Linked DNA regions of Homo sapiens: region 2 is linked to region 1. The links are contacts of gene promoters, found by promoter capture Hi-C in human tissues and cell types (Jung and others, 2019). All regions are on one chromosome and are shown on one strand. The core of a region is centred on a gene start or on the middle of the fragment in contact, and the rest is flanking DNA. Distances in the headings are between cores, read along the strand shown. Region 1 holds the start of DUS1L (dihydrouridine synthase 1 like). Region 2 overlaps HGS (hepatocyte growth factor-regulated tyrosine kinase substrate).

Region 1 (4,732 bases), core at 751-3,250:
CAGAGCGAGACTCTGTCTTAAAAAAAAAATCTTTTACCTTTTACAATTACTGGTTCGATACTGTGCTTAAATATTCTGAACCAGTAGGGCCTCCAGCCTCTGCTGATGGCGCTGTGTGTGGGTTGTGGCTGCATTTGGAATTCAGGTAGTTTTTACAATTTGGACTTGGCTTTTACTTTTTGCTTGTACAAAGCCTCACGTTCAGCCAGGGCGGTGGACAGCTGGGGCCCTCGCCTGTCTTTCCTTAGTGTGCACCCAACCTTGCAGTCCACCAGGGACATCTGGCCACCTCTGAAGACCACCAAGGCTGTTCTATCTGTGAATGCAGAAAATCTGAGACAGGTCTCAGTTAATTTAGAAGGTTTATTTTGCCAAGGTTGAGGACATGCCCATGGCACAGCCTCAGGAGGTCCTGACAACATGTGCCTGAGGTGGTTGGGGCACAGCTTGGTTTTATACATTTTAGGGAGACATGAGACATCAATCAATATATGTAAGATGAACATAGCGGCTAGCTGCGGTGGCTCACGCCTGTAATCCCAGCACTTTGGGAGGCCAGCGGATCACCTGATGTCAGGAGTTCGAGACCAGCCTGGCCAACATGGTGAAACCCCCATCTCTACTAAAAATACTAAAATTAGCTGGGTGTGTTGGTGGGTGCCTGTAATCCCAGTTATTTGGGAAGCTGAGGGAGGAGAATCGCTTGAACCTGGGAGATGGAGGTTGCAGTGAGCCGAGATCACGCCACCGCACTCCAGCCTGGGTCAGAAAGCGACTCCGTCTCAAAAAAAAAAATTGGTTCAGTCTGGAAAGGCGGGACAATTTAAAGCAAAAGCCATCGGGGAGGGAGCTTCCTGGTCACAGATAGGTGATACACAAACGGTTACATTGTTTTGAGTTTCTGATTAGCCTTTTTTTTTTTTCTTTTCCTTTTTGATCAGTCTTGCTCTGTCGCCAGGCTGGAGTACAATGGCTTGATCTCGGCTCACTGCAACCTCCGCCTCCCAGGTTCAAGCGATTCTCCTGCCTCAGCCTCCCGAGTAGCTGGGACTACAGGGGCGCACCACCACACCTGGCTAATTTTGTATTTTCAGTAGAGACAGGGTTTCACCGTGTTGGCCAGGCTGGTCTCGAACTCCTGGTCTCAATGTGCGCCACCGCGCCCAGCCTTCTGATGAGCCTTTTCAAAGGAGTCAGTCAGATATCCATCTATCTCAGCGAGCAGAGGGTGACTCTGAATAGAGCGGGAGGCAGGTTTGCCCTGAGCAGCTTCCAGCCTGAGTTTTCCTTAGTGATTCCGGGGGCCCAAGAGATTTCACATGTTTTAGGTACTGAATGTCCTGGTTCAACTTCGGGCTTCGCTCTCAGATATGGAAAGCTCTGACAAAGCTGCTTTTTACATCTGTTGGGTCTCAAATGCCTTCAGTTTAAAATAACCTTCACATCCACTCTGGGGTTCCCAGTGGGTCCCCACAGCTCGAAATAACCCAAGGAGGGTCCACGGCGGGTAGGAAAGTCGATCGAAGGCTGGCGGCTGCGGAAACCCAGGGCGGGCAAGGAAGGTCCCTGGAGGGTGATTTTCCGCAACGCAGCGGCGGAAAGTGAGTGGCTTTCAGAGGCGGCAGGTGAGTGGGTTCGAGGCAGGGCTCTGGGGCCGCTTTAGGATATAACGGGATGAAGCCCCCAATGCGAACTTGGGGGCTGGGCAGCGCAGGGCCTCAGCGCCCACGGTCTACCCGCGGCCCGGGCCTTATGTGCGCCTCAGCGAGGCCCAATTTCCACATGCCTCGTTTCCAGCGAGCTGTCGGTGAGTCCCGGCGAGCCCCGACCCCTCTCTAGCCACGGCCTGACGGGTACGGTGGTGACCTCAGCCTCTGACCTCCGACCCCGCGCCGCGACCTCTCGTCGCCGGTCCCCTCGGAGCCGGGCGCGGTTTCCGGGGAACGCGTTTCCCGCCGCACCGTGGGCCGCCCGGACCGCGCAGGACCGGGCACCTTCCGGTGGCGGCGCGGAGCCTTGGGCCCGGCTGCGGCCCGGCGGCGGCCCCGGCGCGGTGCGGGCGTTCGCGGCGCCCCGGGAGCTGCAGGGGCCCCGGGCGGCGGCGAGGCCGGAGAGGGGCGGGCCCGGGACACCGGCACCCGGCGCCCTCGGAGCCAAAGGCGCGCGGCGGACACGGCGGGGCCCTCGCGCGGTGAGGACGCGGAGGCGTGTGGGCTCCTGTCACTTCACACAGCAAACGCTGCCCGCCGCGTGGCTCCGGAGGAGTCTCGCGAGGGGCGCCCCTGTGGCGTTTCGGGCCAGCCGGGCCGCCTGGCCGGGTGCGGAGAAGGAAGCTCTGCCCTTCCCCTGGCCCGGCGCGGAGCCGATTCTCCCGGGAAGGGGCCGGGGGTCCTAACTTCACCGCCGGGCGGCCTGCTCAGGGCCAGGCCCGCGGGGACGCTGGCGTCAAGGTTTCTTCCCCCTTCACGCCAGTCCCCTACCAGGCCGACATCGAGTCCCGCTCCCCAGGGAGGGTCAAGTCCCAGGGGTCCAGCGGCTCCCCCGAGGTCCGCTAGGAGGTGGCGGCACTGGAGTGGCCGTTCTCCAGCCTGCACCGACCCCCGCCTTTAGTGCCCCCGCGTGTGACCCAACGGTGGTACTGGAGCGGCCTTAGAAGGGTGACCGCTGCCTCTGAGTTGAGTCTTAAGCCCCTCGTTGGGCCTGGCTGAACCCCGGGTCTGCGCCTTTCCCCCAGCCTGGAGACGATGCCAAAGCTGCAGGGCTTCGAGTTCTGGAGCCGCACCCTGCGAGGGGCCCGCCACGTCGTGGCCCCCATGGTGGACCAGAGCGAGCTGGCCTGGAGGCTGCTGAGCCGGCGCCACGGGGCACAGCTCTGCTACACGCCCATGCTGCATGCCCAGGTCTTTGTCCGCGACGCCAACTACCGGAAGGAGAACCTGTACTGCGAGGTGTGCCCCGAGGACCGGCCCCTCATCGTGCAGGTGCGCAGGAGGGGCTGTGGCCGCGGCCGCGGTTGGGTTCCCGGTCCTGGAATGCCTGGGGAAAAACCCTTCTCTCTGTGGCGGGACATCACTTTCAGCCTTTCCAGAGACAGCTCAATTCCAGGAGGAGAGGGAGAAGGTGGCACCAGGCATGTAGAGTCCACGTAGCCACAGCAGTGATTCCTGTGGTGGAGCCAGGGCTGCCAGGTGCACCTGCCAGAATCCAACCCCATTCTCTAGGAGTGGCTCAGGCAGCCTGGGTGCTGTGAGGTTTGCAGCCCTGCTGGGGCCTCTGGATTGCTGCCTCTCACACTCACACTCCCTCTTCAGAACCAGTGGAGATGGCTCTGCTCTTCAGAAGTCAGTGATTGTGGCTTCTGCCACAGTTCAGAAGAAAATCTGTAAATCCGGGTGGCTTGGGGACTCCTCCCGGCTTTGTCATATTGTAAGCCTCCGCAGGACAGAGCACCCTCCTGCAGTGAACCTGGGCCCACACCCTCATGGGGTCACACTGGACCTCTCGTAGGGCTGGGCAGCAAGGGACTAGGGCCTGGCTGGGCCCGTGGCTGACTCCTGCATCTTCTCCAGTTCTGTGCCAATGACCCGGAGGTGTTTGTTCAGGCGGCTCTCCTGGCTCAGGATTACTGTGACGCCATTGACCTGAACTTGGGCTGCCCACAGATGATAGCCAAGAGAGGTGAGCTCCATGTGGAGCATGGGGGCACCTGGGGCAGGGGCCAGAGCCAGCTCAGTGCAGCCCCAGGTGTGGTGAGCTTGGAGGACGGCAGGCCCTGCCTCTGTCGTGACAGTGGCTCAGGCTGGAGCCAGCTGTCCTCTGTGCTCCGCCTCTGGAGGGTGGCTGTCCTCAGGCCTTGGGGGCTAGGGGCCGAGCCCTACTGGCTCTCTCTTCCCTCAGGGAGCTCCCTCTGCATAAACATGATTGCTGATACAGGGTCCCCATTACCCCCTTGCACTGCTGTGTGTGGGGCTGAGCCTGCTACCTCACCGGGCCCCTGAGGAGGTGTTACTTGGTTCCAGACCGTGCAGGGTGGGGGTTCCATTCAGCACCTTCTGAGCTTAGGCAGCTGGGCAAATAGAGCCCCTGAGTCTGATGCCGACAAACCACTGCTCTGACTGTCCCACTGCCCCAACTGGAGACACTGCTGGTTCTGGGGACCTGTGTCCCGCCTGACAGGGCAGCTCCTGGCCTGCGTGGATGCAGGAAAGGGTGCAGAGGGGGTGCAAGGCTTCGGCCCCACCAGCCTTAACACAGGTGCCAGCCAGGCCATGCTTGCTCCTTGCAGGTCACTATGGCGCCTTTCTGCAGGACGAGTGGGACCTGCTCCAAAGAATGAGTGAGTTGGCTGGGTGGATGGTGAAGGACCCCCAGAGACCCTCAAGAGGGACACATGGGCACTGTCCACTTGGTTGGGGCTCAGGAGAGGACAGGCGTTGGCAGGAGTTCTCAGCATCACCCTGGGGCTTCCTGCCCACAGCAGCCTCTCTGCTGGAAGGAGGTGGCTGTGAAGTTGCCTGTCCTGCACCACCCACCCCTTAAAACCAGACAGTAGGTGCCAGGGCAGAGTCCTTGCTCGGGCCCAGCCCCAGATGTCCTGGGAGACAGAGCCGGCCTTGGCCCTGCTTGTTTGAACTTCGGAGGGCCGGGGGTATGGCGGAGGGAGCCTGCCCAGCAACCTGAGGGAGACACCCAGATGGTGGCCCGGGCTGCCTCCCAGCCTCCCGGCAAAGCT
Region 2 (4,732 bases), core at 1,134-3,633, 380 kb after region 1:
CCCCGTACGATGCCGAAGCTGGGCCTCACAGGTGGGGGAAGGCAAGGGACAAGCAGAACAAGTGCCTGGGAAGACCCTAAGGCCGGGGAACCTGGACATGCTCCCGGGAGTCTCAACGCCAGCCACCGTTTTGGGGAAAATAAGGTAAGTTAAAAGTAAGGGCAAGGAAAAAATACACATCAATTCTGCTGATAAAACAAGAGCTTTTGTGAGTGCAGTGGGTGCTGGAAGCTGCTGACACCCCAAACCCCAAGCACTGCCGGTTGCCAGCCTGGAGGGGGTTTTGATGTGAAGATGCCTCGAGGGTAAGAATCCAGATGGGCTAAGCCACAAAGAGAAGGGGGCCCCACGGCCCTGGCAAGCAGCAGAGTGACTGTGGCAAGGCCTGTAGCCCTAGGTTTAAAACATTATAATTCCAGAGTGAGGCTGGGCCCGGCCCAGGCAGTGGCATCAGGCCCTTACGTGGGCCCTCACTGTCCCCCTCCTGACGCCACACTGCCACCCGCTGCGAGCTGCACTCACCTCCTGAACCACCCACCAGGAAGGAAAGGCCCAGCAGGGACGGTGGCCTTGTGCACGGCAGGGGACCTGGTGTCTGGCCGGGGCTGTAGAGCCCCCCAGGTGGGAACTCACCTTACGGGTCATCACCCCGAACTGCACCCTGCAGCGGTGGCATTCCTCAGCGTCCACCCAGTCTGGGGCCTGAGGAGGGGCAGCAGTCAGGACCACACGCTTCCCGCCCCACCAGCCCCAGAGGCACAGAGCCTCCCCTGCCCCACAGAAGGCAACGGACCCAGAGAGGACCCCAGCACGAGCGAGAGCAATGCCCCGGGCGGCCCTTCCCAGCGGCGTGGCCTGGGGTGAAGCTGCCGAGGCCTGAGGAAGGGACTTCCTTCCTCATCAAAGGTGCTTGTTTTCCTTTCCCGAGCCCCCTAGCCACTCTAAAGGCCCTCAAGCCACGTCTCCACCTCGCCCTGCAGAGACAGCTGCTACGCCTCCGCCCAGGACACACAGGCATCCTCAGGTCCCAGACAGACGAGAGCTCAGCCACCAACCCTCAAACAAGCCGGGCTCCCAGCACTCCCCTTCACGCTTCCTGAGCAGCCCGACTCCAGAACCCCTGGCGGCCGCCCACACTCACTCTCTCGGCAGCAAACATGGCATCGCTCTCTTTGAATTCTGGAAAGACGTGCCCTGGAGAGATGAAGCCATAGTCACTGCCTGCTCCCACCTGGCCTGCAAGACTTCCGGGAGCCCCTTCCTCACTCTCGGCAGCTGCAACGCAGCAGTGACCGTGCACCCAAGTGAAGGTGTCTGGGGGCACCGAGACAGCCTCCTGCCCCCAAGATTGGGTGTCCCCATGGGGCCTCTGTCCTCACTGTGGCGGGAGACAAGAGCCAGGCCCTGCTGCCCTCTTCCTGAGACACTGCTCCCACTCCATCAGGGCATGAGGCCCCTGCGTGGCCCCGCCTGCTGAGTGGCTCCCTCACCCTCTGCTCTCTGGCCAGGGCTCCCACTGATCCTGAGGACAAGACCTTGAGCTATTCTTGACACACGACCCCAGAAAAAATCCAGGAGAGCTCCCACCCCAGGAAGGAGACAGGAGCACAGACCACCAGCATCCACCACCCCAAAGTTGAGGGTCCAAGGCAGCTCGTGCAGCGCCCCCTGCGTTCTTCCCGTGTTCTCCACACTGGTCCTGCCCACCCTGCAGCCACAGGGCAAGCGTCCAACTCCTGCAGCGGGGACGCACCACCCCTGGAGCCTGCCCCATTCCCCACGCTCTCAGCCTCGTCTTCAGCAGACTCAGGGCCACAGAGAACCCGCACAGATGTGAGCAGCCATGCCCACCTCTCTCTCACTGAGTGGGCCCTGAGCACCAGCCAAGACTCCCAAATGCATCCTGAAGCCCCCACCTCTCTCTACACAATCCCCTAGTTCTCCACGGCCACAATGGCCGAGAGGGACCCTTAAGAAACACACCTTGGCAGCCACGACCTAGACGAAAACCCACCAGAGGCCTCCTGCTGCGCTGACAGCAACCCTGAACTCCAGCCCAACAGCCTGGAGGCCCTCGGCGCACAGGCCCGGCTGCACTCTCCTCTGGCACGCTGGCCACCTTTCTGCCCTGGGGCCTCAACCCTGAGTGTCTGCCCACGGGTGCTGCCTGCCTGCTCACGCCGGCTCTGGCTTCTGTTCCAGTCTCGACACTTGGGACAGCTCCTTCAGAGGCCTTCCCTGACTGCACAGCCCAACCCGGCCCCCAGGAGTCCTGCCACTCTGAAACAGGCTGTCTGCTGCCTTTTCACCTGTGTGTTGTCTGCCATCACTGCCTGCCCCTGCCCGTGGGCCGTGGGTCCAGAAAGGCAGGAGCCGGTCTGAACCCGCCCTCACATGCACGGTCTTCCCTGGCTCCAGGCCACCGCCCTCCTCCCTCCCAACACAGGGAACAACCCATCTTCCCAGGCCCCTCGCCACTGTGCCCGTTGAGCCTGACTGCCCAGCAGTTCCAAGCCTCAACCTGGTCCCAACCTCAGTCCTGACTCACCCTCCACCTTCATGATCTGGTAGGTGTCCTGGACCACCTTGTACTTGGGCTCGTTCCGGAAGGCATGCGCCCAGGCCTGGATCAGGTACAGGATCTTGTTACGGACGTTTACCTCCACTTGTCTCTGCAGGCAGGGAGAAGGGGGTGAGGGTCGCAGGACACTCCAGGCGCCAGAGGCCTCGGTGTGAGGAAGCAGCTGGCAGACCTCAGCCTCTGAGCAGATGGGGCTGACACAGAGGCCAGGGAGGGCCCCCCGAGTGGGGCGTGGGGGCCATGCACCAACCTGTTCCCAGACCCTGAGTTCAAACCTCACGCCTGCCTCTACTTGCTGGAGCCAAACAACGCCGCGTCTCTGTGCCCCTGACCATCTGTCTCTCCCTTTCCCCACGGGACCTGCCCACCCCAGGATCCCCGGTTCCCGTCAGCCTCCAACAGGCAGGACCCGGCAGGCCTGACGGTGGCAGCGTGGTGTTGGGGCTGAGAACACAGGGGTACTGCGGGGCTCTGGCCACGCCCCTCCTTCCAGTCACAGCCGGGGAGACGCGGGGGGCAGCCGCTCCAGAAATGCCTCCAAATTCAGAGCGGGCTCCAGACCCCCTGCAGCCATCCTCTCCCCCGGTTAGAGCGCAGCCTGGCCTCGCGTCTACGGCCCTCTCGGGGACGCCGTCCCGGTGTGACGTGCAGGACGGCGTGCGATCAGAGGCTGCTGCAAGCAGGCTCCGGGGCACTTGCACCTCAGCCTAAGCTCCTTTCCAGAACCCCTCTGCATCCTCAGCGGCGCCTTCCCTTCACAGCCCTGCCTCACCCCAGAGGAGCGAACCGGCTCAGGATCTGCAGCCTGACTGAAGGAGCTCAGGAGCACCAGGGTCGGGCAGGGCCAGACTCCGGCACCTTCCGCCTCTCAGCCAGGACAGGACGGGACAGGAAGCCAGCCAAAGTGGCCAGTGAGGGCCTTTGAGAGGCCTGGCTGTCCACCGGGATCCCCGGGCAGGTTCTCAGCTGTGTGAGTCCAGGGAGTCTCCTATGAGACCCAGGTCTGGCCCACAGGTTGGGACAGAAGGGGAGCAGCCTGACTACATGGGACACTCTTTCTCCTTGACACCTGCAACAGCATCCCCACTGCATCACAGTCCACATCACAGTCCCTGCAGGTGTCCCCAGCACAATCCCTGCAGATGTCCCCGGCACAATCTCCTGGGGATCTGGAGGGCTTTTCCTCCTCTGCCCAGGAAAGCATGAAGCCCTCGCTCTCCAAAACAGCTCTTATCCCCGCCAGACACATCCGATCTTACAAGCCCCCGCTCAGAGCCCTCCCAGGCCCCTGCCTGTGGGATGTGGCCAGCCTGCCCTCCGGACCACAGCCACTCTCACACACGATAGCCACCACCTGCCCTGCCCACCCAGTGGCATCTACTCACCTTCCCTAAGACAGCAGGTGCCCAAGCCCTGCCTCCCGGAAGCTTCCCCCAGGCCCCAGGGTCGCTGTCACCTTGGTCCTCCAGACACAGCACCCCAGGCCGGCTCCTGCTAAACCCTGACCTCCCTGGATTGGGGCTCACGGCCCTGTCTCTCCGACTCATGAGTGCGAGCTTGCGCAGTGCAGGGACCACCGATCTGCACCTGCACATTTTCCGCCACACCTGGTGCTGTTCTGTCATCAGTGCCCAGTAAACACCCGGAGAAGCAAAGGTGCCAGCCTGGGTGGCCACCCGCATGCCCCCGTCTCACCCACCTTCAGCAGGTCCTTCAGCTCCTCCATGGTCTGCTTGTTGGCCACCTCATCATGAACTGTCTGGCCACAGTTCTTTACCACAGATTCCATGACCTGCAGATGCCCAGGAAGGGAAGGGTTGGGCCAGTGGTCAGGGCAGGGCCCCTCCTCCTCCCGGACAGACCCACCTCCCTGTGGGACAGCAGAGCCCTTCGACAGGCCCGTCAGTGGCCGGTGGGGAACCCGGTGGGACAGCAGAGCCCTTCGACAGGCCCGTCAGTGGCCGGAGGGGAACCCGGTGGGACAGCAGAGCCCTTCGACAGGCCCGTCAGTGGCCGGTGGGGAACCCGGTGGGACAGCAGCCCTTCAACAGGCCCGTCAGGCCAGTGGGGAACCCACATCTGAGACTCAGCAGCCTGCACAGCACCGCTCCGTGACGCCAAGTCTCACTGCCAAGCACAGCAATGACATCC

Evidence for each region. The method cuts DNA at HindIII sites, captures the fragments that hold promoters and counts their contacts. A contact is called where the count stands out against the background at its distance.
Region 2: a contact is called between a fragment that was not itself captured here and the fragment with the promoter of DUS1L in region 1, in 1 of the 25 tissues and cell types used here (spleen).

What each region holds. Positions count from the first base shown.
Region 1 is chr17:82,063,072-82,067,803 of GRCh38, reverse strand. DUS1L (dihydrouridine synthase 1 like) reads left to right here and starts at 2,000. Exons shown (of 14, transcript NM_022156.5): 1 at 2,000-2,191; 2 at 2,735-2,981; 3 at 3,570-3,678; 4 at 4,286-4,336. The coding sequence starts at 2,745. RefSeq lists silencers at 1,929-1,988, 1,999-2,068, 2,359-2,408 and an enhancer at 2,632-3,360. The HindIII fragment of the contact is 11,103 bases long and covers 1,786-4,732 here.
Region 2 is chr17:81,686,644-81,691,375 of GRCh38, reverse strand. HGS (hepatocyte growth factor-regulated tyrosine kinase substrate) reads right to left here. Exons shown (of 22, transcript NM_004712.5): 4 at 4,281-4,373; 5 at 2,549-2,672; 6 at 1,142-1,194; 7 at 634-702. Among named protein-coding and RNA genes, the nearest start is that of MIR6786, 4.7 kb to the left of the region's middle. The HindIII fragment of the contact is 5,827 bases long and covers 1-4,732 here.